Regions from separate parts of the Homo sapiens genome. Here regions 1, 3, 4 and 5 are each linked to region 2. Evidence: promoter capture Hi-C in 16 types of primary human blood cells and fetal thymus (Javierre and others, 2016). All regions are on one chromosome and are shown on one strand. The core of a region is centred on a gene start or on the middle of the fragment in contact, and the rest is flanking DNA. Distances in the headings are between cores, read along the strand shown.

What was found. The method cuts DNA at HindIII sites, captures the fragments that hold promoters and counts their contacts. A CHiCAGO score of 5 or more calls a contact.
Region 1: a contact is called between the fragment with the promoter of CPD here and the fragment with the promoter of TP53I13 in region 2, in 5 of 17 cell types (erythroblasts, non-activated CD4 T cells, M0 macrophages and 2 more). The highest score is 8.7, in erythroblasts.
Region 3: a contact is called between the fragment with the promoter of BLTP2 here and the fragment with the promoter of TP53I13 in region 2, in 2 of 17 cell types (naive CD8 T cells and non-activated CD4 T cells). The highest score is 12.4, in naive CD8 T cells.
Region 4: a contact is called between the fragment with the promoter of PROCA1 here and the fragment with the promoter of TP53I13 in region 2, in 1 of 17 cell types (total CD4 T cells). The highest score is 6.1, in total CD4 T cells.
Region 5: a contact is called between the fragment with the promoter of TMIGD1 here and the fragment with the promoter of TP53I13 in region 2, in 9 of 17 cell types (naive CD8 T cells, neutrophils, naive CD4 T cells and 6 more). The highest score is 9.6, in naive CD8 T cells.

Annotation. Positions count from the first base shown.
Region 1 is chr17:30,376,070-30,380,690 of GRCh38, reverse strand. CPD (carboxypeptidase D) reads right to left here and starts at 1,764. Exons shown (of 21, transcript NM_001304.5): 1 at 965-1,764. The coding sequence starts at 1,710. RefSeq lists silencers at 1,289-1,418, 1,719-1,958 and enhancers at 936-1,863, 2,009-2,178, 3,449-3,498, 3,749-4,038. The HindIII fragment of the contact is 3,432 bases long and covers 1,057-4,488 here.
Region 2 is chr17:29,567,027-29,571,835 of GRCh38, reverse strand. TP53I13 (tumor protein p53 inducible protein 13) reads right to left here and starts at 3,135. Exons shown (of 7, transcript NM_138349.4): 1 at 3,006-3,135; 2 at 2,750-2,818; 3 at 2,477-2,518; 4 at 117-245. The coding sequence starts at 3,077. ABHD15 (abhydrolase domain containing 15) reads left to right here and starts at 4,799. Exons shown (of 2, transcript NM_198147.3): 1 at 4,799-4,809. RefSeq lists enhancers at 2,095-2,595, 3,679-3,728 and silencers at 2,899-3,258, 4,259-4,518, 4,609-4,809. The HindIII fragment of the contact is 2,834 bases long and covers 1,141-3,974 here.
Region 3 is chr17:28,643,415-28,648,398 of GRCh38, reverse strand. BLTP2 (bridge-like lipid transfer protein family member 2) reads left to right here and starts at 3,241. Exons shown (of 39, transcript NM_014680.5): 1 at 3,241-3,410; 2 at 4,212-4,341; 3 at 4,740-4,789. The coding sequence starts at 3,343. It overlaps SDF2 (stromal cell derived factor 2), which reads left to right. Exons shown (of 3, transcript NM_006923.4): 3 at 1-53. RefSeq lists silencers at 2,855-3,084, 3,105-3,444. The HindIII fragment of the contact is 8,883 bases long and covers 1-4,984 here.
Region 4 is chr17:28,709,178-28,713,828 of GRCh38, reverse strand. It overlaps PROCA1 (protein interacting with cyclin A1), which reads left to right and starts at 1,941. Exons shown (of 5, transcript NM_001366301.1): 1 at 1,941-2,259. The coding sequence starts at 2,169. RefSeq lists enhancers at 1,087-1,166, 1,725-2,500, 2,501-3,276 and a silencer at 2,207-2,706. The HindIII fragment of the contact is 5,904 bases long and covers 1,321-4,651 here.
Region 5 is chr17:30,332,505-30,337,621 of GRCh38, reverse strand. TMIGD1 (transmembrane and immunoglobulin domain containing 1) reads left to right here and starts at 3,565. Exons shown (of 7, transcript NM_206832.3): 1 at 3,565-3,622. The HindIII fragment of the contact is 5,890 bases long and covers 3,340-5,117 here.

The DNA.
Region 1 (4,621 bases), core at 515-3,014, 810 kb before region 2:
GCCAGTGGGAACAATTCCTGTAAAGTTTAACTGGGTACACCAACATACCTCATAAATATTTATAACATTCTCTTGTTTTATACTAATTTCTTGAGGTCCTCCTTCTTCTACTTTGTAATTTTTTAAACCTCATGCAATGCTTAATAACACTTAAAGTGTGTATTAGAAGTGTGACCATTAGCCATTCTGCCCAGGCTAATAAGGTGCACAAATGACATCACAAACCCTTCAGAGTCTAAAATGAAGCGGCTCACAGATCTGTGCAAGTTCTCCAGCTAAGTCCATATCTTCTTAAGCTGAGTCAGAGGTAAAAATTGGAGAAAAATCAGCTTCTGTCAAATAGGCAAGGGGAAGATCCTGGGAATATCATCTGCCATTTTTGGGCTCCAGTGTCCCTCCGTGGCTAAGAGGACTATCGGGAATCAGATTGCCTAATTCTAAGTCCCAGCCACACTCCTATGTAAATCAGTTAACCAATCTGACCCTCAATTTCCCCGTATGCAAAACTGATGGTGTCTATGACATCAGGTTGTGGCCAAAATAAAGTGAGATACTGCAGTCACAGAAAAAATTAGCACAGCGCCTATAACATTAGGCACTTTTGATATAAGATAACAACATTGACAGCTTATCTATAAAATGTGTGAGCTGACCTAGGTTATCCTTAAGATCTCTTCTCGCTCATATTCTATGCCCCTGTAAGAATAGGGACCAGAAATGTCAGAAAGGAGTGTCCCCTCCAGCCATCCCTTGAACAAATGACAGCCTCTAGGAGGCAATTCTTTGATGATTAGCAGGACGGGAGGCTACGCGGCCTGGGCCCTGTCCCCGTTACAGGGTGTCTCCCTTCACCTTCACCACCGCCACCCCTTATGCCAGCATTGTCTGAGCGCCTACTGGGTGCCGGAACCAGCCTCGGCCCTTGGAGGCTCACACGGACGGGGAGGGGGCAGGCAACACTCACTTGTTCCTGCGGATCCACTCGATGAGGGCGCGCACCTCGGGCACCTCGTCCAGGGCGGGGGGTTCGCCGGTGCTAAACTGGTCGGGAAAGCTTCGGTTGAGGTCGCGGCCGCGACTATTGTCGCGGCCGCTGGCCCCGGACGGGCCGCCGTCGCCGAAGCCACAGTCGCCCTCGCGGGCACGCTCGAAGCCATCGGGGTTGAGGCTGGGCAGCAGGTACACGTCGGTGGTGTTGAGCAGGCGGACCAGGCGCGGGTCCCCGCGGCGGTAGCCGGCCGCCAGCTCGCGGGCCAAGTAGATCAACACCTGGCGCGACACGGTCTCGTCGCCATGCATGTTGCCCACCAGCTTCACCTGGGGCCGGCCGGGCAGCAGCGGCCCCGCAGCGTCGGGCCCGGCAGCGTCAGGCCCCGCGTCGCCCTCAGGGATTAGCGACCCCAGGCCGGCGGTGAGGCGAAGCACCCACAGCGGCCGGCCTTCCACCGAGCGGCCGATGCTAAAGAGGCGGGCCAGGCCGGGGAGGCCCGCGGCCGCCGCCTCCCTCAGCGCCGACTCCAACTCCTCTTCGTGGTAGTAGCGGTCGAACTGGCCCTCGGCCGCCTCGGCGCCCGCGCTCGTAGTTGTGGTAGTCGCCTCCGCCTTCTTGATGTGAGCCGCCCGGGCCGAGCTCCCCAGCAGCAGCAGGCACATGAGCAACAGGAGCCGCCCTAGCCGCCAAGGCGGCCGCTCGTCCCGGCCGCTCGCCATCTTCCAGCAGCGCCGCTAACCCCGGCTCCGCTCCCGCGGCTCAGCGCTCCGGGCGGCGGGGGCCCGCCGGATCCCCTCCTCGCCTAGCAACCCCATCCCGCCCTCTGGCCGCAGCCAATCGCGGACGGGCCTGGTGGAGCGTCACCACCAGGGGGCGGGGCTTCCCTTAAAGCAGCCGATTCCCTCTGGGCGGGCCTGCCCTCCTCCCGTCCGGGACGAGTTTGGTCACTCTCTTCCTTCGCCAAGGTTCTTCTTCTCTTCTCCTCCTCCTTGTTTCGTCTTCTGCGTGTGCTCCGCTTCTCGCTTAGTCTCTTCTTTATGGCTTCTCCCCTAAATTATCACCCATTTTTCTCTGAGAACTCCTGCTAGTTCTCTTCCCATCTTTGTTGCTGCCTTTCTCAGCTGCGCTTTAATGCTTAGAACCGAGAATGGAAAGAATCAAAAGGTTCGAAAGAATCATAAGACTAGAAAAAATCAATAGGTTCGAAAGAATCTTCGTTCGGACACTCAAAGCCTTAGCCCAGTCTCCTAGGCGCCTTGTCTCCGCATCCACCCCGCCTCCGCTGGAGCCCCGCTGTCCGCGTGCGGTTGCACGGGACGCCTCGTGGGGAGGAAGGCTCGCACCTCACTAGGCGGTGCATTCATTTTTAGAGTTGCTTTCTGGAAAGGTGTCTCTTTTATGCCTAGCGGAAATGTGCTACGTAGTAGGCTCCCTTTGTGTTAATGTTGTCTATTTCTTAGGCGTCACCCCACGTTGTTTTACTGCAAATAGGTCCCTGTGTGTGCTGGCCTCGACCCTCATTAGGCAGATTTCATTTCACAGCTCACCGGCCCACTTCTCCCACCTCATCGGAGCAAGTTGTATATTTAACTGTGCCCTGGAATGACATATTTTAAAACAGCAGGTTTGACATTTCTGGAAACACTTGCTTGGCATTCCTGAACTCCTCAGTGTCAGCCAAAGATGGCAATTACAGCGTTTCATCAAGTCTAGAGAAGAGGTCTTTTAAATCACCTTTTATAGGCTTTAGTTTCTTTAGCTTGAAGAAACCCAAAACTATCCCTTAATCGAATGCGAAATTCTACCCATCTAACAACATAATCGCAATAACCGGCATTACCTTCTTTCAGAGCCAGCTATTTCAGGGCCCCTTCCCTGAACTATGACTGAACCCTACTTTAATAGAGTTCATTCATTCGTCAAGTATTTATTGAGCAACTTTTATGTCAAAGCTAGATGCTGGGAAACAATTCATTCTTCTGCCCAGTCAAGAGATTCAGTGTAGTTTGTGATAAATGCTACAACAGAGGGGGTACAGGTGAGGGAAATATCTGAACTTGAGGAGGAGGAAAGGAGGAGAGAAACCATGGAGGATGGGAAGGATCCCAGGCAGGAGGAGAAGCAAGCAAAGAAAGCCGCAGGATTTGAGAACAAATGCCTTGTGTTCTGGGAATTGCATGCAGGGTCAGGATTACTGGTGTGAAGGGGCTCACAGGCCAGTCTTCAGGGAGCACATTTGATCTGGAAGGCCATGGAGAACCACAGACGGGTTTTAAGCTAGTTTAGAAAAATTCCTCTGACAGTAACACGGAAAATTGAATGGGAGGCCTAAGACTTGAGGCTGAGAGACCTGGAAGGAAGCTGCAATCCAGGAAGACATGATGAGACTCTGAATGAGGGCAGTGCCAGTGGAGGTGGAAAGAAGGAAATGGATCTGAAAGACCTTCGGAAAGGAAAGTGGACAGGATCTGGAGACAAAGAGGATTGTAGGCTGACTTCAAGTTACAGCCTAAGCAACTTGCAGGTATTCACTGAGGTACAGGCCAGGAGAAAGCACAGGTTTAGGTGAAGATGATTAATTTAGTATTCTGCCATCAGAGCGAGCACCGTCACTCCGGTCCTGTGAATGGCTCTTCTCCATGCCCCATTTGATCTAGTCTACATTATGCACAGCAGCTGCAACTCATCAGAAACAAAGCCACAACTCTGTACAGAGAGACCGCCCACCACCTCCCGGGAGTGCTCAACTATTACACCATGCACTTTTACAGTAATCCAAGTCAAAGAAGCCCCAGAGGACATGTTAACTTCTAATCAAATATTTCCTTTTCTACCACGTTCACTCTCCTTTGAAACCTCTTCCAGCCCCTTCACTCCTGCAGCCTCGCCTAGAGAGGCAGCCTGAAATGTAAATAAACAAGCATGAGGGTGGTGAAATAATATGGGAATGTAACTTGAGCCGGTGTCCTCTCAGAAATCCCCAGGCCTTCCGTGGGCCTCTTTCAGGTCTGCAGCCTTCTTCCTTAGCAGGTACACAGTTGCTTATGGTTATAAGTGAAACCCAAAGCTCTGGACCTCAGTCACTTTTGTGTTTACCTACAGGTTTGTGTTTACCTACAGCTGAATACCTCCAATTGTGTCTGAGAAGTCTTGAACCTTATGACAGGTGTTTCTTTCCTCTTTCCCCAAGGAAAAGGTGTGGCCTTACAAATGGAAGGGACTTGGGAAAGGCTTGAAGGTAAAAAGGCTTCCTGTTCACAGAAGCAGAGTGGCAATGACTTGGATTTTTTTTTTTAATTTTTGTATTTGATACATGATAATTGTACATATTTATGGGATACATTTGATATTTTGATACATGCATACAATATATTATGATCAAACCAGGACATTCTGGATAGCCATCACCTCATTTAGCTCAAAGAGATTTGAAATGTTTCTAGCACCAAGAAATGACAAAGAATTGACGTGGATTTTTTAAAAACAGGGCAAAAGCTTTTAGATGACCAGCCTGATTCAAGAACCATTTTCTTCACAAGATTCGTAGGTAATTAAAGCATAGCATAGACCGGGAACTTGTAAGTGTCTCATTGTCCAGCACAAACACCTGCAGATTTACAAATTCAATTT
Region 2 (4,809 bases), core at 1,886-4,385:
AGAGCTACGAGGAAGGTGGGGACAAACAAGAGGAAACCCTTGAATTTTCCATTCCCTGCACACGGGGCCATAGCCTTCTGCCAGGGCCAGGCAAGCGCCTTTCATCAGCTACATACCCGATCCTGCGTGAGGCTGAAGTCAGGGGTGAGGGAAGGGTTAGCCATACAAGCATAGGCCAGGAGGGCAAGCTGGAGCTTCAGCCAGGGATGGGCACAGGGGTGGTAGAGGAAGGTGACATCCTCAGCCTGGAGGAAAGGCACAGAGACATCAAAGCAGGCCCAGAGCCCTCCCAGAGAATCTCAAGTTCTCCCATCCAGGGGACCAGTTTAAAGGTACTCCCAGGATAGCTGGATGGCTCTTCTACCTTCAGGGCCCAGGAAAGGACAAAGGGCCCTGGGTATTGGCATGTACCCACTCTTGCCTCTGAGTGTTCCTTTCACCCTTCCTCTCCATCAAGTGCCACCCTTCAAAGCTCACAGCATGCCTGGATAATCCTGCCAGACTCAGACCACACTCTAGCCATATTTCCCTGCAGGTGTAACGATGGCTCTACAGGTCCACAATCCAAGCCATAAGCAACCCCCAAATGAAGACCATCGATCCAATCTATACAGTCTCCCAAGAGCATCCAAATACAGGGCAGGCAGGCAGCAGGTGCACAATCTCAGGATGGAAATACTCCATCAATCATTCATTATTCTTTGATTGAGTTGACTTGGTGCTCAGTGCTGTGCTAGATGCTGTGGGAGATGCCAAAGAACTCCTGGACTCTGCTTGCAAGGAGTGTGTGAGAAACTCAGGGAAACAACTAATGCAAATAAAACAGCAAACTAATAAAACTTAGTGATTAGTTGTTAAATTATCAGAGATAGATTCAGAGGAGGAGGGGAGGAATAAAGGCTGATGCCATCGGGCAGTGTCTCAGGGGGAGCTGATGCCAGCTGGGACTGGGAAGATGGCTGGGGGAGTATGGCAGGAGGGCAGGGAGCTGCACTCTCCGAGTCAGGATAGGCCAGGTGTGGAGGAGAATAAACAGGAGCAAAGGGGCTGTGGTAAGGGCGAGGCTGGCACTCATTTGTGTGGCAAACAGCCCGACACAACTGGAGAGGAACCAAGGATGTGGAGAGGTCAGACGAAGCTTACTTAAGTAAGGCCTGAAAAGCCAGGCCGGAGAATATGGCCACGATAAGGTGGGAAATAAGGAGCCATTGACAGTTTGTGAACAGAGGAATGACTTCATGAAAGGGCTGTTTGAGGAAAGGAATCTGATAGGTGGCGTGAGGCAACAACTCTTGGCCTGGAGCTATTACAGAGAATTTTTTTTTTTTTTTGAGACAGTCTCGCTCTGTCGCCAGGCTGGAGTGCAGTGGCATGGTCTCGGCTCACTGCAACCTCTGCCTCCTGGGCTCAAGCAATTCTCCTGCCTCAGCCTCCCAAGTAGCTGGGATTACAGGGGTGTGCCACCACGCCCAGCTAATTTTTGTATTTTTAGTAGAGACAGGGTTTCACCATGTTGGCCAAGCTGGTCTTGAACTCCTGACCTCAGGTGTTCCACCCGCCTCAGCCTCCTAAAGTACTGGGATTACAGGTGTGAGCCACCATGCCTGGCCAATTTAAGTTAGGTATTTCAGGCCAGGCATGGTGGCTCACACCTGTAATCCCAGCACTTGGGAGGCTGAGGCAGGCAGATCACTTGAGGTCAGGAGCTCAAGACCAGCGTGGGCAACATGGTGAAACCTCGTCTCTACTAAAAATACAAAATTAGCTAAGCTAGGTGGCACACGCCTGTAATCCCAGCTGCTCGGGAGGCTGTGGCATAAGAATTGCTTGAACCTGGAGGCAGAGGTTGCAGTGAGTGCCACTGCACTCCAGCCTGGGCAACAGAGTGAGATTCCATTTCAAATAATAATAATAATAAGTATTTCAAAGGAAAATTCAGAGGAGCTGGCGATGAAGATGGAGATGCTACCACGCAAGCTGAGCCCGCAGTGTGGAGCCTGGCAACTGGAGGCACACTCCTTGCACGATGCAGCTCTGTACTGTACACGGTGCTGGCACATACCCTCCCTCGCTGCTCACAGGTAGAGACAGAATTAATACCCTCTCCTACAGAAAGCTGGGGCCCACAAAGTCAGGAGACTTCCCGCTGTCTCCTCAGGGAGCTGGAGCCTGGGTTTTTTCCAGCTACTCTCAGAGAGAGTTCCACTCACAGCCACTTGTCCACAGAGCCAGCTACCCAACAGCATCCTGACACAGCATTGCAGATGACAGGCCTATGGCTCACTGTCTTTGAGCCATCTGTCCTGGGGCTGATCTGTCCTGGGCTTGGAGGTGGGGCAGAGAACTAGAACCCTGCCTCTGCCTGAGGGAAGTGGTAAGGAATGGGGCCGATCAGCAGAACAGGCAGCGAAGCCTGCTAGGAGCGCCTGTCTCCAGGCGTGGACACCAAGGGTGGTGGGCCCCTGCTTGTACTCACCTGCCCTGGGCTCACTCGTGTGTAGGTCACTCTTGGTGACACCTATACATGGGGAAAGAACAGAGCTTAGGGCAGTTGGGGGACTCCGTGTGTGTGTGGTGGGGAGGGGACGGCAGGCCCCAAGCGCCAGGCTGGGATGGAGAAGTTGGCTACTGAGGACTGAGGAACCGGCAGAGGTCCTCAGATGGTGACTGTGGAGGGTGCGGCGAGAACAGAGCGGGACTGGGCTAGCCTTTCACATCCCTCTCTCCCTGGGCCCTCCAGGGCTCCTACCTGCGGAGGCAGAGGCCACAGGCTCTCGGGACAATGGGCTCCCGCCTCCTCCGCCGGTCCAGCCATCACCTGTGGGTCCAAAGCGAAGAGTTGGGGCGCTGGACGCGGCGAGGCCCTGCCCTCTCTCTCCCCAGGCCCAGCCCGCCAGCGGAAGAACTCCGCGTCCCCCTCGGCGCGCCACTCCTTCCAGGACGAACTTTTGGCAAAGCGCTTTGAGCTCGCGGGCCGAGGCCTTCCCAGGAGCGGGTCACCTTACCTCGCTGGGACCCAGGAGCCTCGCGAGGGCTGCCAGGAGAAGCAGTTGGGGCGAAGGCGGAGGAGGCGCCATTCCAAGCGGCCCCGGGCCCGGCCCGCCGCCCAGCCGCTCCGCCAGCGAGGGAGCGCGCGCGCCCCGCCCCTCCAGCCCCAGCGCCCCCGCGCCGCCCGCGCCGCCCGCGCGTCCGTTGGCCCTGGGCTCGCGCGCGCCCCTCCCCAGACAGTGGGCCCCCGGTATCGCCCCGCCCCAATGCCCGCCCACAGCAGCGGAGTGTGCGCGCACGCGTCTTAAACCCGAAGCCGGAAAAGTTAAGTGTAGGAACCGGGTCAGCGCGCAAGGCTCAGTAGGGCAGGCGGGGGGCCCCTTTCCTCGTCCGGGGATTCGTCTCAGCAGGTCCCTGCAGTCTGTAGAGCAGCTGCACAGCTGCAGCGCCTGGATGAGATCGTGGAGCGGAGTGTAAGGCCGGAAATGGAATCCCTGTGGACCGGGTGGCCCAGGCTGGGGAGACGGGTACACTCCCCTGGCAAACCCGCTTCAGATTTGTCGGTGTGACCTGCAATGAGAAGAGGGGCAGAATCATGAAGTCAGGAAGAGCTGCTGAAGGGAGAGGGTCCCACCTCTGGAGCTTCGCCGTCGGCCCACCCCGCTCCCGCCCTCGCAAATAGGGTCCAACGCGGAGGAGCCTCGGGAGGTGTCTCCGCTCCCCAAACTCTCCAAACCCAGAAGCCCCGGGAGGCCGGAGCTAGCCGAGAGGCTGCTGTCTTCCCCACCTCCGCCGTCGCCCAGCGGTGGCAGGCGCGCGTCTAGAAAGAGATTGGTCGCCGCGAGATGGGGACGCCACAGGCCTCACCCCCAGGAGGTGCGCTGGCCGGCCCGCCCCGCAGCGGGGCGCTGGTTCTGGTTCCCTCTCCAGGATTTGGGGGGGAAACGTGGGTAGAGAGCGAGGGTCGAGATGCCTATCCCAAAGCTTGGAAACAGCGAGAACGTGTTATTTCCGTGGTCTCCCATGCACCCCGGTTTACGAGGCGTTCCTTGTAGGTCGGACGGGCATCCCTGTCGCAGGGCGCCTGAGTGTGTCCTTTTCTCCGACTGACTCTCGGAGGCTTGGGGCTGCTGTTTCTGGGGAAGCCACTCCCGGGCTGAGGATTTCCTTGATGTGGAGCCCCGAGCTCGCGGGGACGGGGGCGAGGAGTCCACGGGACCCGCACTGATGCAGGCGGGGAAGCAGCAGCCTCCCGCCAGCGGCTCAAGACGCCGCGCTCGACCTCTCTAGCCCAGTGCCGGACCCCGCCCAGCCAAGTTATTGCGGGGTTGCGGGGCCGGGCGGGGGAGAGCAGGGCCGCCCGAGGGCAGAGCGCGCGCGCGGCCGCCGCCCCACGGGGTCCCGGGAGCCGGCGCCCGGAGCTGCGACTTACTCACCTCTCCCTTCTGCTTCTTTTCATCGGCCTCTGAGGGCGCAGCGCCCAGGGTCTGGCGGAAGACCCTGATGACAGTCGGGTCCCCAAGCCTCGGCCTCCAGTCTCCCCACGTCTCCATGGCCAACACCGCTCTCCCCGGCTCGTGCCCTCCCCACTCCCTTCCGGCTGCCGGCGCGCCCTCCCTCCCTGGTGGCCCCGGCTCCTCTCACCCTCTGCTCCCACTTGTTGCAATTGCTGTACAAAGGGCCGGGGCGGGGGTGGGGGGCGGGCGAGGGCAGCCGGGCCCGAACTGGCTGCCTCTGCCCGGCCACGGCCAATCCAGAGCGCGCCCGCGCGGGAGGGCCCTGGGCAGCCGCCGCCGGCGGGCGGAGCCGCGGGCAAAGCGC
Region 3 (4,984 bases), core at 1,992-4,491, 920 kb after region 2:
TATAGCTAAAAACTCTCAGAGAATACAGCATAATAAATAGCCAGTGAAATGTTTGCTTTGTATCTGTTACTGCAGATGAGAAAAAGGTGTAGGGGTAGAAAGAACGAACCAGTATTTATTCACTGCTAAATACTAGGTACCATATTATAGATCTTTTTTTTTATTTATTGTTTTTTAGACAGAGTCTCGGTCTGTCGCCCAGGCTGGAGTGCAGTGGCGCGATCTCGGCTCACTGCAAGTTCCACCTCCTGGGTTCACAACCATCCTCCTGCCTCAGCCTCCCAAGTAGCCGGTGCTACAGGCACCCGCCACCACGCCAGGGTAATTTTTTTGTATTTTTAGTAGAGACAGGGTTTCACTGTATTAACTAGGATGGTCTCGATCTCCTGACCTCATGATCCGCCCGCCTCAGCCTCCCAAAGTGCTGAGATTACAGGCGTGAGCCACCGCACCCGGCCTATAGATCTTACCTCATTTAATCTTCACAGAATTCATATAGGGTAATACTGCATTTTTATCAGTGCAGCAGTTGAGTAACTGCCTGAATTCTTTTTTTTTTTTTTTTTTGAGACAAGTTCTTTGCTCTGTCACCTAGGTGGGAGGGGCACAATCATGGCTTATTACAGCCTTGACCTCCTGGGCTCAAGTTGATCCTCCTGTGTCAGTTTTTGATTTATCGTAGAGATGAGGTCTCACTATGTTACCCAGGCTGGTCTGGAACTCCTGGGCTCAAGTGATCCTTATGCTGTGTCTTCCCAAAGTGCTGGGGATTACAGGAGTGAGCCACCATGCCTGGCCTACTGCCTGAATTCTTTTTTTTTTTTTTTTAAGATGGAGTCTCACTCTGTCGCCCAGACTGGAGTGCAGTGGTGCAATCTCGGCTCACTGCAACCTCCGCCTCCCAGGTTCAAGTGATTCCCCTGCCTCAGCCTCCTGAGTAGCTGGGACTACAGGCACCCGCCACCACACCTGACTAATTTTTGTATTTTTAGTAGAGATGGGGTTTCACCATATTGGCCAGGCTGGTCTTGAACTCCTGACCTTTTGTGATCCGCCCACCTTGGCCTCCCAAAGTGCTGGGAAAACAGGTGTGAGCCACCGTGCCCGGCCTGAATTCTTAAAACTAATAAATCATTTTGGAATAGGAATCCAGCTGTTTCTGACTCAGGTTTTTTTAAGTGCACTACGATTGTGTTTAGCTTTTGGAAAACAAATCCTGTTTTTTGGACAAACGTAGATATATCTCTCTAAAAAGGTGGATAGAAAACTACTTTTGTCCTCTGCCTACCTGATTTCCTCCTTTCCTGTGTCAATTGCAGAAAATTTGCTCCTGTAGCTTCCAATCATGGTATTGGTGAACGGAGATGGCTGCCATCTGCTGGAATTTCAGTGACTAGCAGGCTTTTTTTATTTTTAGAAACTTCCGGGTTTTGTTCTTTTTTTTTCTATTTGTTTTGTTAATGTTGAACATTTAGAGACACCATTTCTGTGCCAAACATGGCCCGTGACGTTAAAAGACTTGGTCTCTTTTACAAGGGCTTGTGGTCTCAATAAATGGAGGCCATGAATTAGTTGAGCCCCACTGTTGCCTCAACCACCCCCCACCCCCGACTCCCTGCCTTTATTCCACTTCACTTGTGTTGATCCCTTAAGATCTCTCCAGAAAGAAATAGACAAATCATAAAATCAACATTTTAGGCTATGAGATGGCTGGGAGTAGGGCCGGTAATAGTCAAGGGAGAAGGAAGGAAGTGACAGGAATCTTGGTTCAATAAACAGATTGGATAAGATGAACCAGAGTAGGGATACGTGTTGCACGGCACCCCTCCTTGACTTGGACAGAGGTTTTCAGTGAATTGGGCCTTCCCAGAGCATTCGGAGGACATACCCTGGGGGAAGGCTGCAGATGACGAGGAAGATGACGCAAATACAGTGCTTGAGAGGTAAGTATGACCTTGAAACAGCAGCGCTGGAGCTCTTGGGGAGATGTGAAATCACTGAAGAGAGGAATAGATAAGGGAGGAAACAATCAGAGGAGTGAAAGCAACTTCGGGCAACACACAGGTGAAAGATGAAATGGTGTTTTATCTGAGGGAGCCAAAAAGAGAGGCTCTGAGTAAAATCTTGAAGGATATATATGGAGATTAGGACGTGGGAGCGAAGGGGTATGAAAAGAGACATGACCTCCTCCATAATACTTATTTTGAAACCGTCAGGATTTCCTTAGCTTGTGCTGTATCAGTAGATCATCATTCAGATACTGATCCTTAGCACAGTAACGCTGAGGGACCTTTGTCCTGTTCTCTCATTTTACAGAGAAGGAAGCAGGCAAAACTATGTATTGTCTATTTTATGTAATTATGTTTGCTTCCCAGATAAACTACACAGAAGGAAGCAGGCAAAACTGACTATGTATTGTCTACTTTATGTAATTATGTTTGCTTCCCAGATAAACTATTTTTTGCTAAAGGGCAAGAACAATATTCACTACTTCTGCAGTATCTCCTCCTCTCCTCCATCAGGGCCCAGTTCGTGCCATAAGTAGATGGACCAGAACAGTGTTCAAACAGTAAATGAAGTAAAAACTCATTGGCCAGGAACCGTGACACGCGTCTTTAGTCCAAGCTACTCAGGAGGCTGAGGCAGGAGGATCCCTTGAGCCTGCAGGAGTTCGAGACCAGACTGGGCAACGTAGCGAGTCCTTGTCTCAAAGAAAAAAAAAACAAAACCTCATTAGTTTCCTCTGTGGATGGAATGAGGCGAGATTTTTGAGGCCTTTTAATTACCTCCTAGTTTCTGCCTCAGTAATTTTCAAACAGGATCTTGAATAAGATGGGAGTGCTACCACGTCTGACCAGGGGTGTAACTTCCGCAGAACCCTGAGTCCAGGCCTAAGTGGCTAGGCGGACTCCAACTCCCCTCAAAGTGAGCTCCCCGGACCGAAATGAGTCAGCCAGGTCCACCGCCAGCCCAGGTAGTGGGCCCGGACTCCGACCCCCGCGGGTCCCCGAGCCCCGCGGTTCCGGGCACCGTGGTGTGCGCCCGGGGCGTGTTTCAGCTCTTGGTCCGCTCCCCCTCGCCCTCCTCCCGGAACCACGCCCGCTCCTCGCGCACGCAGCCCGTCGGCCCTGCAGCGTCGTAGGACAGGGCGGGACTGGGGTGGGAGGCCGTTGGTTGGCTGGCGGGCTGCGGAAGGCGGGGCTCGTGTGCGCACCAGCGCGTCCTCGCTCAGCGTTGCTCCTGCGCGCGCAGCTGGTCGGCCCGCGGCGGTGCTGCGCGGATCCGGCGTCGGGGCCCGGCATGGCGGGGGCCGGGGCCAAGCCGGGCCGGACCCGGACCTAAATGCCTCTGTTCTTCTCCGCGCTGTTGGTCTTGCTGCTAGTTGCGCTTAGCGCCCTCTTTCTAGGCCGGTGAGGGTTCCCGGCCGCGCCGGCGGCGGCGGCGGCGGCGGGAGGGAGGGGGCGGAGAGGAGGAAGAAAGACTGAGGAGGGGGCGCGCGCCTTACTGAGGCGCGTGAGGCAGAGTGGGTAGGGTGGAGGGAGGGGGCGCGCGGCGAGGGGAGGGATCGTGAGGAGGCGCGTGGCCCGAGCTCCCAGGGATGGGCTGCGAGTTGGGGAGACTGAGGAAGCGGGCGGGGTCTGAGGAAATGCTGAGGCCAGGAACTGAATAGGAGTGTGAGGAAGGGGCCTGGTTCAGTGGCTTCCCTTTCCCCCTCCACCCACCCCTGCATGTCCCTTTCGCCAAGCGCGATGGGCACCTGCAGCATCGGTCTGGGGAGAACAGCATTCGAGCTGCCGGGTCTGACCTCAAAGTGCCTTCTCGTGGATACCTGTCTGGAGGGTGGGAGCAGGAGACAGACAGACCCTCTGGGGAGTGTGATGGCACATGTGACAGAGCCGCCTCCGCTTTGACTCTTGCTGGGGTCTTCTCTCTCTGCCTCTGGGATTCATAACAATTTGAGGGATTTTGTTTTTGTCTTCAACTTAGAGGGTGCAGTTTCTGGTTTCATCTGGGTGGAGGGGTCAGTCGGGAGCTAGGATCTTGATCAGCGTGGCTGAATGTATATGACAGAGTGGTGCTTTGGAAGAAAGGAGAGTTGCTCAGATCCAGTTTCAGGAACGACCTTTTGCAAGGCTTTGAAAGACCAGCAAGGGGTGAGGGAAACCATCATTGGAAAAAGGTCCTATGAATTAACAGGAATTTTTCTGCAGGTGGCTTGTGGTCCGGTTGGCCACCAAGTGGTGTCAGCGGAAGCTGCAGGCGGAGCTAAAGATTGGCTCCTTCCGCTTTTTTTGGATCCAGAATGTCAGTCTTAAGTTTCAGCAACACCAGCAAACAGTGGTGAGTTCTGGGAAACTCTGGATATGTGTGTAGGGTTGATCCAATTGAATTTAAACTCTTAATTTCCTTTTTTTAAAAATAGAAATCCTGGTGGCTTTTCTAGTTAATCCCAGCCTTGCCATTTCTTTGCCAAGATGATCTTAGAGCTAGTTGGAGAACGCTGCAAGTTGTTCAGTTAAAAATGTTTGTAGGACACAGAGTGTCCAGGGCACATAACAAAGATACAGAAGAAAGATAACAGGAAATCGAAGATTTTACTGTTCTAATTTAAGATGGGATTCAAGGCAACATGGCTATGAAAGAGAAATTCTAATAATCCAGAACATTTCCTGGCTTGTCAAGCTGCTCGTGGCTTATTTAGCAGCTAGCACACAGAGCTTTCTCCCTCACTGTTTTAGGAAATTGATAACCTGTGGATTTCCAGCAAACTCCTTAGCCATGATCTTCCGTGAGTACCCTATATTCTCACTTCTCCCCTAGAAGAGTACTTTGGAGTTGGTGTTTGCAGAGTGACACTCTTCTGCAGAGGCATCACAATCCAAGGAGGAAGGGAGGTTGTTGCTGAAGTCTTCCTGTTAGCCTGGGTGCCATTGTGTTGTGAGGAAGATATTGATAACTGCTATGAAACTAATCTCTGTGATTT
Region 4 (4,651 bases), core at 692-3,191, 860 kb after region 2:
AAATCCAAAAATTAGGCCGGGCGCGGTGGCTCATGCCTGTAATCCCAGCACTTTGGGAGGCTGAGGCGGGCGGATCACGAGGTCAGGAGATAGAGACCATCCTGGCTAACATGGTGAAACTAAAAATGCAAAAAATTAGCCAGGCGTGGTGGCTGGTGCCTGTAGTCCCAGCTACTTGGGAGGCTGAGGCAGGAGAATGGCCTGAACCTGGCAGGCGGAGCTTGCAGTGAGCCGAGATGGCACCACTGCACTCCAGCCTGGGTGACAGAGCGAGACTCTGTCTCATAAAAAAAAATAAATAAAATAAAATACAAAAATTAGCCGGGCGTGGTGGTGCATGCCTGTAACTCCAGCTACTTGGGAGGATGAGGCAGGAGAATTGCTTGAACTCAGGAGTTATAACCATTAACTTTTCTTTCTTTTTTTTTTTTGTTTGTTTTTTTGGTTGTTTATGCCATTAACTTTTATAAGAAAGAAAGGTGACCAAGACCCTGGCTCCCTGTTGACATCTAACCCAGAGTTCCAGAGTAGCTGGAAGCACCTCAGACATCTGGGTCAACAAAGGAGGACTTATGGCCTCGTGTCATCCTGGGAGGCTAAGGGGGTGTCCAAGTTAGAAGGCAGATTCTGGCTCCCAGTTGCCAAGTGCTCTGTCTGTTCCATTCCTGGTTCCATTCTCACCAGGATGGTTGGTTTTTCTGCACACTTCCCTTCTCCTGGCTTCCCCTCCCTCGCAGTTCCTAGACTCTCTAGAGCTACCACGGGAAGGAGGGTCTGGGCAGCAGCCCTACCCACTCCGGACTTGGGTCTGGAGGAAAGTGAAGGTGGGGATCAGGCAGAGCAATAGTAGCAGCAGCAGAGCCCCTGGATGATGGTGGAGAAAACAAGGTGTGGACCCCATCCTTTCTCCTCCTCTTCATCCTGGCTTTGGAAGCTGGTGCCAAGAGAAATGGAGGGGTGTGGTGCATGGAATGTCGTCGATATGGCCATAACTTCTTTTCACACTCTCCTGTGATTGTTTTTTCCATTTCTGTTCCCTCGCAGCACTGGGCTCCTCACCCTTGCCTTGCCTGTTAACAGATGTGTGTGAAGCCAGCACCACAGTCCAGGTGTGGTGTTTGTGCTGCACCGGGTGTGGGAGTTCTGTGTTCCGTGTGCATGTTGTATTAGTCTGTGTGTGGTGAGTATATTCTGTGTGTGTGTGATATATGCATGCGCAGAGTGTGTATGTTGTACCTGAGGGCGTGAGGGGTGTCACTGGGATGAGGTTCCTATGAATGCAGCCTGCCCTGTTCTCCAGATTGTCTATCAGGATAAGCTTACGACTCTCTATTGGGCAGTATTGTCTCTAGAATAGGGTGTCCCCTGGGGGCCAGGGGCGGGAACGCTGCGGGGTGGCGCAGGGGCTGGGAGCCGACATCAGGTCCTCAGCCCGGAGTTAGGTCTTCGGAGAGGCCTGTGGGCGGAGAAAGGGGAAGCCCGGGCTCCACCAGAGGCGGAGGGACCTCGAAGCCCGGAAGGTGGAGGGGAAATGGCGACGCCAGGACCTCCCTGGGCTCAGGGGATCCTCCCATCTCAGCCTCCCGAGTAGCTGGGACTACAAGTGCGCACCACTAAACTAGCTAATTTTTGTATTTTTTGTAGAGATGGGGTTCGCTCTCTCGCCAGCGGGCAGAGGCGGGGCTGCGGCTGGGTTCCCAAGGGTCGGTGGGGCGGGGAGCGGGACGGGAGTGTGCGGTTTAGAGAATGGCCGGGGCGGGGCTAAGAATGGGGCTGGGGGCAAGGCTCGTTGTAACACTAAGAATTGGGGCTACGATCTGGAGGCAGGGTGAAAATCTGGGGTTTGGACTGCAAGCTGGAACCAGAGATGGGTGGTGAGAGCTGGGCCTGTAAGGTTAAGGTCTGAGATAAAGAGGGGCCTGGGAGGCGCCGGAGGCCCCGGATGAAGAACGCGGCTGACGCTGAGACCCAGCTGGGAAGACTACGCAGCCTGGAGCCGGGCTGGGGAGGCCGGCGGGGGCTGCGCCAGCATGAGGCGGGGTTAGGGGCTAGGCGGGGGCGAAGCCGAGACTGGAGTTCACGGCTGGGCCGAGGGCTCGGCCGGGCTGAGGCTCAGGGTTGGACTTCACGCAAGAGTCCTGTAGAGACGAAGACCTGGGCGGAGAGCGATGTGGGTCAGGACGACGCTCACAATTGAAAGATGGACTAAGGAAAAGACCGAGCCCAAGGCCCGCTCGTGGGATGAGAGCAGATGCCGCGGTAAGAGGGGCGGGGCAGGGGCTGGGCAGAGGGCGCGGCCCGGCTCGCAGACCCCGAGCGGCGCACGCGGGAAGCCGGCAAACCGACGAGGGAGACGGGCAAACCAACGAGAGAGGCGGGGCCCAGTGCTGGGCCGGGGCGGAGCTAGGGCCGGGGCGGAGCTAGGGCCGGGGGCGGGCTCGCGTCGAGCCGCGGGCCAATGATTGAGGACTGGGGTCCTGAGGCCCTGCTGGGTCGCCCGCGGGATGGGCGGGAAGTCTGGTTCCAGCCAGAGCTGGAACGCTCGGCTATCGGACTGGGTGGCACCGGGCGCAGGCCGCTGCCCTTGAAGCGCCGGCCTTGGCTGGAGCCCGTGGACCAGCGCCCACCCGGACGCCGGGGCGGGAGCGGGCGGTTCCATCGACCCTGAGGGTGGACCAAGGAGACTGAGGGTTCCACCCGTGGCATCACAATTACCTCCGCGGCGGCGAGGCCAGAGAGGCATTTCCAAGGAGACGCGGGCGCACTGCCCCTCCCTTGCTTCCTCCTCTTCCCTCCTTCCTCTCCTAGTTTCTTCCCTCCCTTCCCGCCCTACTCCTTCCCTCCCTTCCCACCCTACTCCTTTCGGCTGCTCTGGTGCCCACCCCCAGTGCCTCGAGGTCGAGGAGAGCTCCTCGGCCCCGCAGGACGGGGAGGATTCTGTACAGATGAGCATAACTTGTGAGTTTTGAGTTAGGCCTTTGTGCGCCGATTAACGCCTCACGGGGAAAGACGCCATAAGCCTCCCACTTTCTTTCACCCTATCACCCTCCTCATTCATTGTGTGTGTTGTCAGTCACTCCTGCTGCAGGAACTCTGGACTGCTGCTGGTCAGAGGTCTCCTCCTGTCCTCTGGAACTAAAGAGCAGATTGCTTTTCTCAGCTCTGAAGAGAGTTACTAAATTCGTCTCCCCCTTTGTCCTTCCTCCCCTCGTCTCCTTCACAAACAGAGCTGATGGGTGTCCGAGCTCTGGGGGAGCTAGTGAGTGGAGAGTAAACAGGCTCTGACCCTGCATGTGTGCTTTTTTTTTTTTTTTTTTTTTTTGAGATGGAATCTCGCTCTGTCGCCCAGGCTGGAGTGCAGTGGCGCAATATCGGCTCACTGCAAACTCCACCTCCCGGGTTCAAACAATTCTCCTGCCTCAGCCTCCTGAGTAGCTGGGATTACAGGCGCGCGCCACCACGCCCAGCTATTTTTTTTATTTTTTTTTATTTTTAGTAGAGACGGGGTTTCACCATGTTGGTCAGGCTGGTCTTGAACTCCTGACCTCGTGATCCGCCCACCTCGGCCTCCCAAAGTACTGGGATTACAGGCATGAGCCACCGCGCCTGGCCATGTGTGTCTCTTTCATGGTGGCTCCTGAAACAGCAAGGCAGAGGAGTTTTGGTTCCTCACCCTGGCTGAGGTCCCAGCGGCATGACTTTAGGGTCCAGGGTGGATAAGGGAGGCTGTGGAGTCCAGATTGAGTAAAACCAGAGGGTGAGGAATTGGTAGTGTTGGAGCTGAAAAGCAGGTGCAGTAGGAAGTGACTGTGCCTCAAAAAAACACCTGTCCTTCCCGCCGTCTCACTCTGCTGCCCACACTGGAGTGCAGTAGCACGATATCGGCTCACTGCAACCTACACTTCTGGGGTTCAAGCGATTCTCATGCCTTGGCCTCCAGAGCAGCTGGGACTACAGGTATGTGCCACCATGCCTGGCCGATTTTTGGATTTTTATTAGAGAAGGGATTTCACCATGTTGACCATGCTGGTCTCAAACTCCGGACCTCAAGTGATCCGCCCACCTCGGCCTCTCAAAATTCTGAGATTACAGGCATGAGCCACTGCACCCGGCCTGGTAGGACAGGTTTTGCATATGGAGCTGAACGTGATTTATTTTATAAGACAGAATCTCACTCTGTCGCCCAGGCTGGAGTGCTGTGGCTCTCTCAGCTCACTGCAACCTCTGCCTCGCCGGCTCACTCAAGCAGAATGTGGTTTTAAGGCTTGGCTATGGGCCGGGTGCGGTGGCTCACGCCTGTAATCCCAGCACTTTGGGAGGCTGAGGCGGGCGGATCACGAGGTCAGGAGATCAAGACCATCCTGGCTAACACGGTGAAACCCCGTCTCTACTAAAAATACATAAAATTAGCCGGGCATGGTGGTGGGCGTCTGTAGTCCCAGCTCCTCGGGAGGCTGAGGCAGGAGAATGGCGTGAACCCGGGAGGCGGAGCTTGCAGTGAGCCAAGATCCCGCCACTGCACTCCAGCCTGGGCGACACAGCCAGACTCTCTCAAAAGAAAAACAAAACAAAACAAAAAAAAAGGCTTGGCTGTGGAGCTTCACATACAGAATGACCTTTGTTTACAGGGGTGTGTCCCCAGCCAACAGTA
Region 5 (5,117 bases), core at 2,316-4,815, 770 kb before region 2:
GCACCTTGAATTTGACTCCATGGTTCTCAAAAGGAGATTCACAAACCATTGTGTAGAGTCCCTTGGAAGGCTTGTTAAAGATGAAATTTCTAAGTCTTATCAGGACTGAGGAAGGAAAGGTACTGGAACCTCCCCCAGGTGATTCTAATACTTGCCTTAATCAGAAAGTCATGGACTCCCTTGTCTGTTACCCTTCTAGAAGTACCTGGGCCTTAGGAATGGGAAGCAGATTGTCTTTTTTTAATTTTTTATTTTTTTGAGACAGGGTCTTGCTCTTTCACCCAGGCTGGACTGCAGTGGTGCGATCACGCTCACTGCAGCCTTAACCTCCTGGGCTCAATCCATCTTCCCACCTCAGCCTCCCAAGTAGCTGGGACTACATGCCACTATGCCTGGCTAATTTTTGTAATTTTTTTTTTGTATTTTTTGTAGAGATGAAGTTTCGTCATGCTGCCCAGGCTGATCTCGAACTCCTGGGCTCAAGCAATCCACCCGCCTCAGCTTTCAAAGTGTTGAGATTAGAGGCATGAGCCACTGCACCCTGCCAGATTGGTCTTTATTCCCAGGAATGTTCAGACTCGAGGGTGCTTTTTCCTCTTTCCCTCTTGGTCTAAGCCACTGTGGAAGCTGTGGAGTATTGGACTCTGTAAATACTCCAAACAGCCAAACTACTTAGGCTTAATGGTTAACTACTGGGCTTAACTACTTACAGAAAAATGATTTCTCCCCTCTGTCAGTTCTAGGAAAGAGGACTGTTCCAGGGATTTATATGACCTTGCACGAGTCATATGACAAAATTCTTTGACTCTCCAGCAGGGGCGCCATTATACCATTTTTCTTATCTGAAGTCCCTGCTCAGCACCTGAGGCCACTCTGCATGGCTCCTGATCATCATTAACGTTCTGCTCTACGATGTAAGACCTTCAAAAGCGCAGAGCTTGTTTTATTCATCTATGTATCACCACTTAATGTTATGGAAGCATTAAGTGGTGGAAGCATTAAGCTGGAAGCATCATTCATCTTATAGACATCATAGCTTTGTAGAGTTATTATAACAATTTTCCACAGATGGCAGTAGAGTGACTAGAGAAGCCATATTTTCCCTAATTCATGACAAAGCCACCATATTGGCTTGGCTGCAACTGGCATCCTCAATACTTAGAATACTTAGCACATGGTAGATACTCAATAAATATCTGCTGAATACATTTCCCCAACATTCTGATGACAAAAATGTCATACAGAAAAGTTGAAACAATAGTACAATGAAGATCTATAGACCCCTATTTAGTTGAATAAATGTTAACATTTGCTATATTTGCTGTGTGTTTATGTGTTTACTTTTCTTGCTGAATCATTTGAAAGGTAGTTGCAATTATCATGACACTTGACCCATAAATATTTCAGCAGGCATCCCTTGAGAATTAGAACATTCTCTACATAACTGCAATACCATGATCACAACTAATAATAATTAATCATTATTTCCTAATATCACCTAATATCCAATTGTAGAAGTTGCTGGTGGTGCTCTACTCACACATCCTTGGCCTACCCAGAAGTTACCTGCAAAGAGTTCCCATATAGCCAGTGACTTCCTGAGCATCTTTTCCTGGACATGTTGGCCAGCTTGAGAGAGTACACTTTGCCCTCACAGGGCAGGCTGAAAGTGCCAGAGAGTCAACACCTTGAGAGTGTCCCTCAGCCGGAGATGGAGAGAAGTTGCTTCCTTCCCTATCAGTAGTTGATTCTGAGGTATGCTGCACAGAATACAACTTGTCCAAAGCTCCAGGGATATAGTTGCTCACGGTAGTAATCTTTAACACATTCTTTACTAGTTTCCTCCCTTCCCTATCTTACTTCCTTACTATGCTTCCTGAGATCACTTTTTTTTTTTTTTTTTTTTGAGGAAGGGTCTCACTCTCTCGCCCAGATTGGAATGCAGTGGTCCAATCTTGGCTCAACACAACCTCCACCTCCCAGCCTCAAGGGATTCTTCCACCTCAGCCTCCCAAGTAGCTGGGATTACAGGCGCCCGCCACCATGCCTGGCTAATTTTTCTATTTTTAGTAGAGACGGGGTTTCATCACATTGGCCAGGCTGGTCTCGAACTCCTGACCTCAAATGATCCACCCTCCTCGGCCTCCCAAAGTGCTGGGATTAAGGGAGTGAGCCACTCACCGTGCCCGGCCGAGATCACCTTTAAATAAACTATTGGCACTCAAAGCTCTGTCTCAGGGTCTATTTTGGAGGCACCAAGAACCAAAACATCACTCCATTGCTAAATTCATTTTAAAATGACAATCTTGGATCCCTGGAGAGGCAAACTCAAAACCTGTTTGGGTGGTGCTTGCAACCCAGCCAACAGGAGCTGCTCTTAGCTCTGATTTTTGCTTGAACAATGCTATAGTGAGGTTGTGTTGATTTAGGATGCCCTGCTCAGCCTATATTAATAATAATAGTAATAAGAGCTACTGTTTACCAAGAGCTTACTGTGCGGCAGATTCACATGCTTCATTTCATTTAATCCTCACAGTGACTCCGTAGGGAGGGTACTATTACTATTTCCATTGTATTGATGAAGATCCTGAGGCTCATGGAGGTTAAATAACTTTTCAAAGTTACATAGCTAGTAAGAGGCAGATTGCTGGTGTGCTTCAGCAGTGTGTTAAAATGTGTAGATAACTATAAATATTCTTCTGTTATATTTTTGTGTAAATGGGAACAATAGTACTTGGCAGATAAAATTTGCATCGTTAACAATACCATAAACATAGTGTAATGCAAGGATCTCCCAATCAGGTGAGAGCCTCAAGAGGATAAAACTGTTCCCTAGGCCAAGGTGGGCAGATTGCTTAAGGCCGGGAGTTAGAGACCAGCCTAGGAAACATGGCGAAATTTCATCTCTACCAAAAATATATATATTAACAAAGTTTAGCTGGGCATGGTGACTCACGCCAGTAGTCCTAGCTCCTTGGGAGGCTGGGAGCAGAGGTTCAGTCAGCCACAATTGTGCCATTGCATTCCAATCTGGGTGACAGAGTGAAACCCTGCCTCAAAAAACAAAACAAACAACAACAACAAAAAAACGGCTCCCTGCCATGCCTGGCTTGGTACAGCTTATGCACTGGGCTTGGGTTACTAGTGGTAACTAAGACTTTTCCAGCATTATTTAAGTTGTGTAGAATCTTCCAATGTTTTGACCTCTGTTAAAGTCAAACTTCTCTTTGGACTCGTCCCTTCACAATCCCCAGGCTAGATGATCAAAACGCAGCCATCTTACTTAAATATGACAATATTCAGTGAGATGCGCTACAGATTTTTGCACAAGTTCAAGCTTTCTTGGAACAACACATCCCTGTTAGTAATATCCGGCCCCACCTAGTAACCGAGGTAGACATAGAAACTTAGATCTTAAGAAGATGTCTTTCCCAATTACTATCTTCTCTAAGACTCCATAAAGAAAAACAGACTTTGAACCCAAGTTATCTTATTTATTTGACCCTGCTGTCATAAAGCGTTCAAATTCAAGTATTATAAAGGATTGTAACAGGGAAAGCATTTAGGGTTTTCAGGCAGAGGAACAGTTGGCCAAGGAAGTCAGCTTCTCAGAGCTCAAGAGGTAAGTGGTAAGACTGTCTTATATAGAAAGTAGAGAGTCATACAGATTAAAAACAAGCCAAGTGAGGGGAATACATTTTGAAAAGTTGCTGTCTCGGTGGAGTGGAGGGAAAGAGAAGACATAGATTTGTCCCCTTAATAGGGCTGGGTGAGGTCTGGCAAGAAGCCTGCACTCTCAGTTTTTATTGAGTACTTGTAGTGCAGAGCGCTTGAGAAAACTCTACTATTGACCACATTCTGCAGTAATCACTGTTACAACACTGTGATAGAAATCTTTTTGGCAAATATTTAAAATTACAAAAGAATCAATATTAGTAGTAATTGCATCTTACGAAAAGATTGATGCAGGCTTGTCTGCCAGAAAGGGTGAGCCTGGCATGAATGAAACTTACTCCTGTCAGGGCACGCCTGGGACAGGGGAGGAGTAGAGTAGGTATAGGTATATTTCAGCTCTTGTAAATTAATACTGGTGTTAAGGGGAGAGAACTCCCAGTGGCCAGGGACTGGAAAAGATTAACAGCAGCTTTTTTTTATTTTTTTATTTTTTATTTTTATTTTTTGAGACCGAGCCTCACTCTGTCGCCCAGGCTGGAGTGCAGTGGCATAATCTTGGCTCACTGCAACCTCCACCTCCCAGGTTCAAGCAATTCTCCTGCCTCAGCCTCCCGAGTAGCTGGGATTACAGGCGCTCGCCACCATGCCTGGCTAATTTTTTTTTTTTTTTTTTGCATTTTTAGTAGAGATGGGGTTTCACTATGTTGGTCAGGCTAGTCTCAAACTCCTGACCTCAGGTAATCCACCTGCCTCAGCTCCTAAAGTGCTGGGATTACAGGCATGAGCCACTGCACCCAGCCTAACAGCAGCTTCTTAAAGGAAAAGAATATTAATCTAGGCAGTAGATTGGGTAGTAGGGTGGTTGAGAGTAGGGTGGTTAAGAGCATGGTCTTGGGAGTCTGGGTTCAAATCCCGACCTTGACATTTACTGTCTGTGGGATCTCAGGCAAATTACATAGTCTCTTTAAATCTATAGAAACGACCTCAGGAGGGTTGTTAGGAGGCTTAATTGTGACTGAAATGATGTATGTAAAGTGTTTAGCACAGTCCCTGTTGCGCAGAAAGTTTTCCGTATGTGGTTCGCTATATTTATAGTAGTACTCTTGAAAGGAAGTAATGAATATATGTTTTTTTCCCAGATGGAAATGGAGAATATCTTAGGGAGAGGGAGAGTTGAAGCAAAAGCAAGAAGGGAGAAAGGACACCTTTATTATTTATTATTTTTAGTCCATTGGGTCAAGGGGAAGAGAGAGAGAGAATAGTGGGAGAAAGACAAGATTAACATGGTTTAAACTAGAGGCCATGTTTCAATTGAGGCTTTTCTACGTACACACCATTTGAATCTATGGGATTTGGAGTAGTCTCAAAAACTCTCTATTATCAGAGAACATCTTTACAAAAATGACCCAAGAAAAACTTTCAGAACAAGAATTACTTTGTTC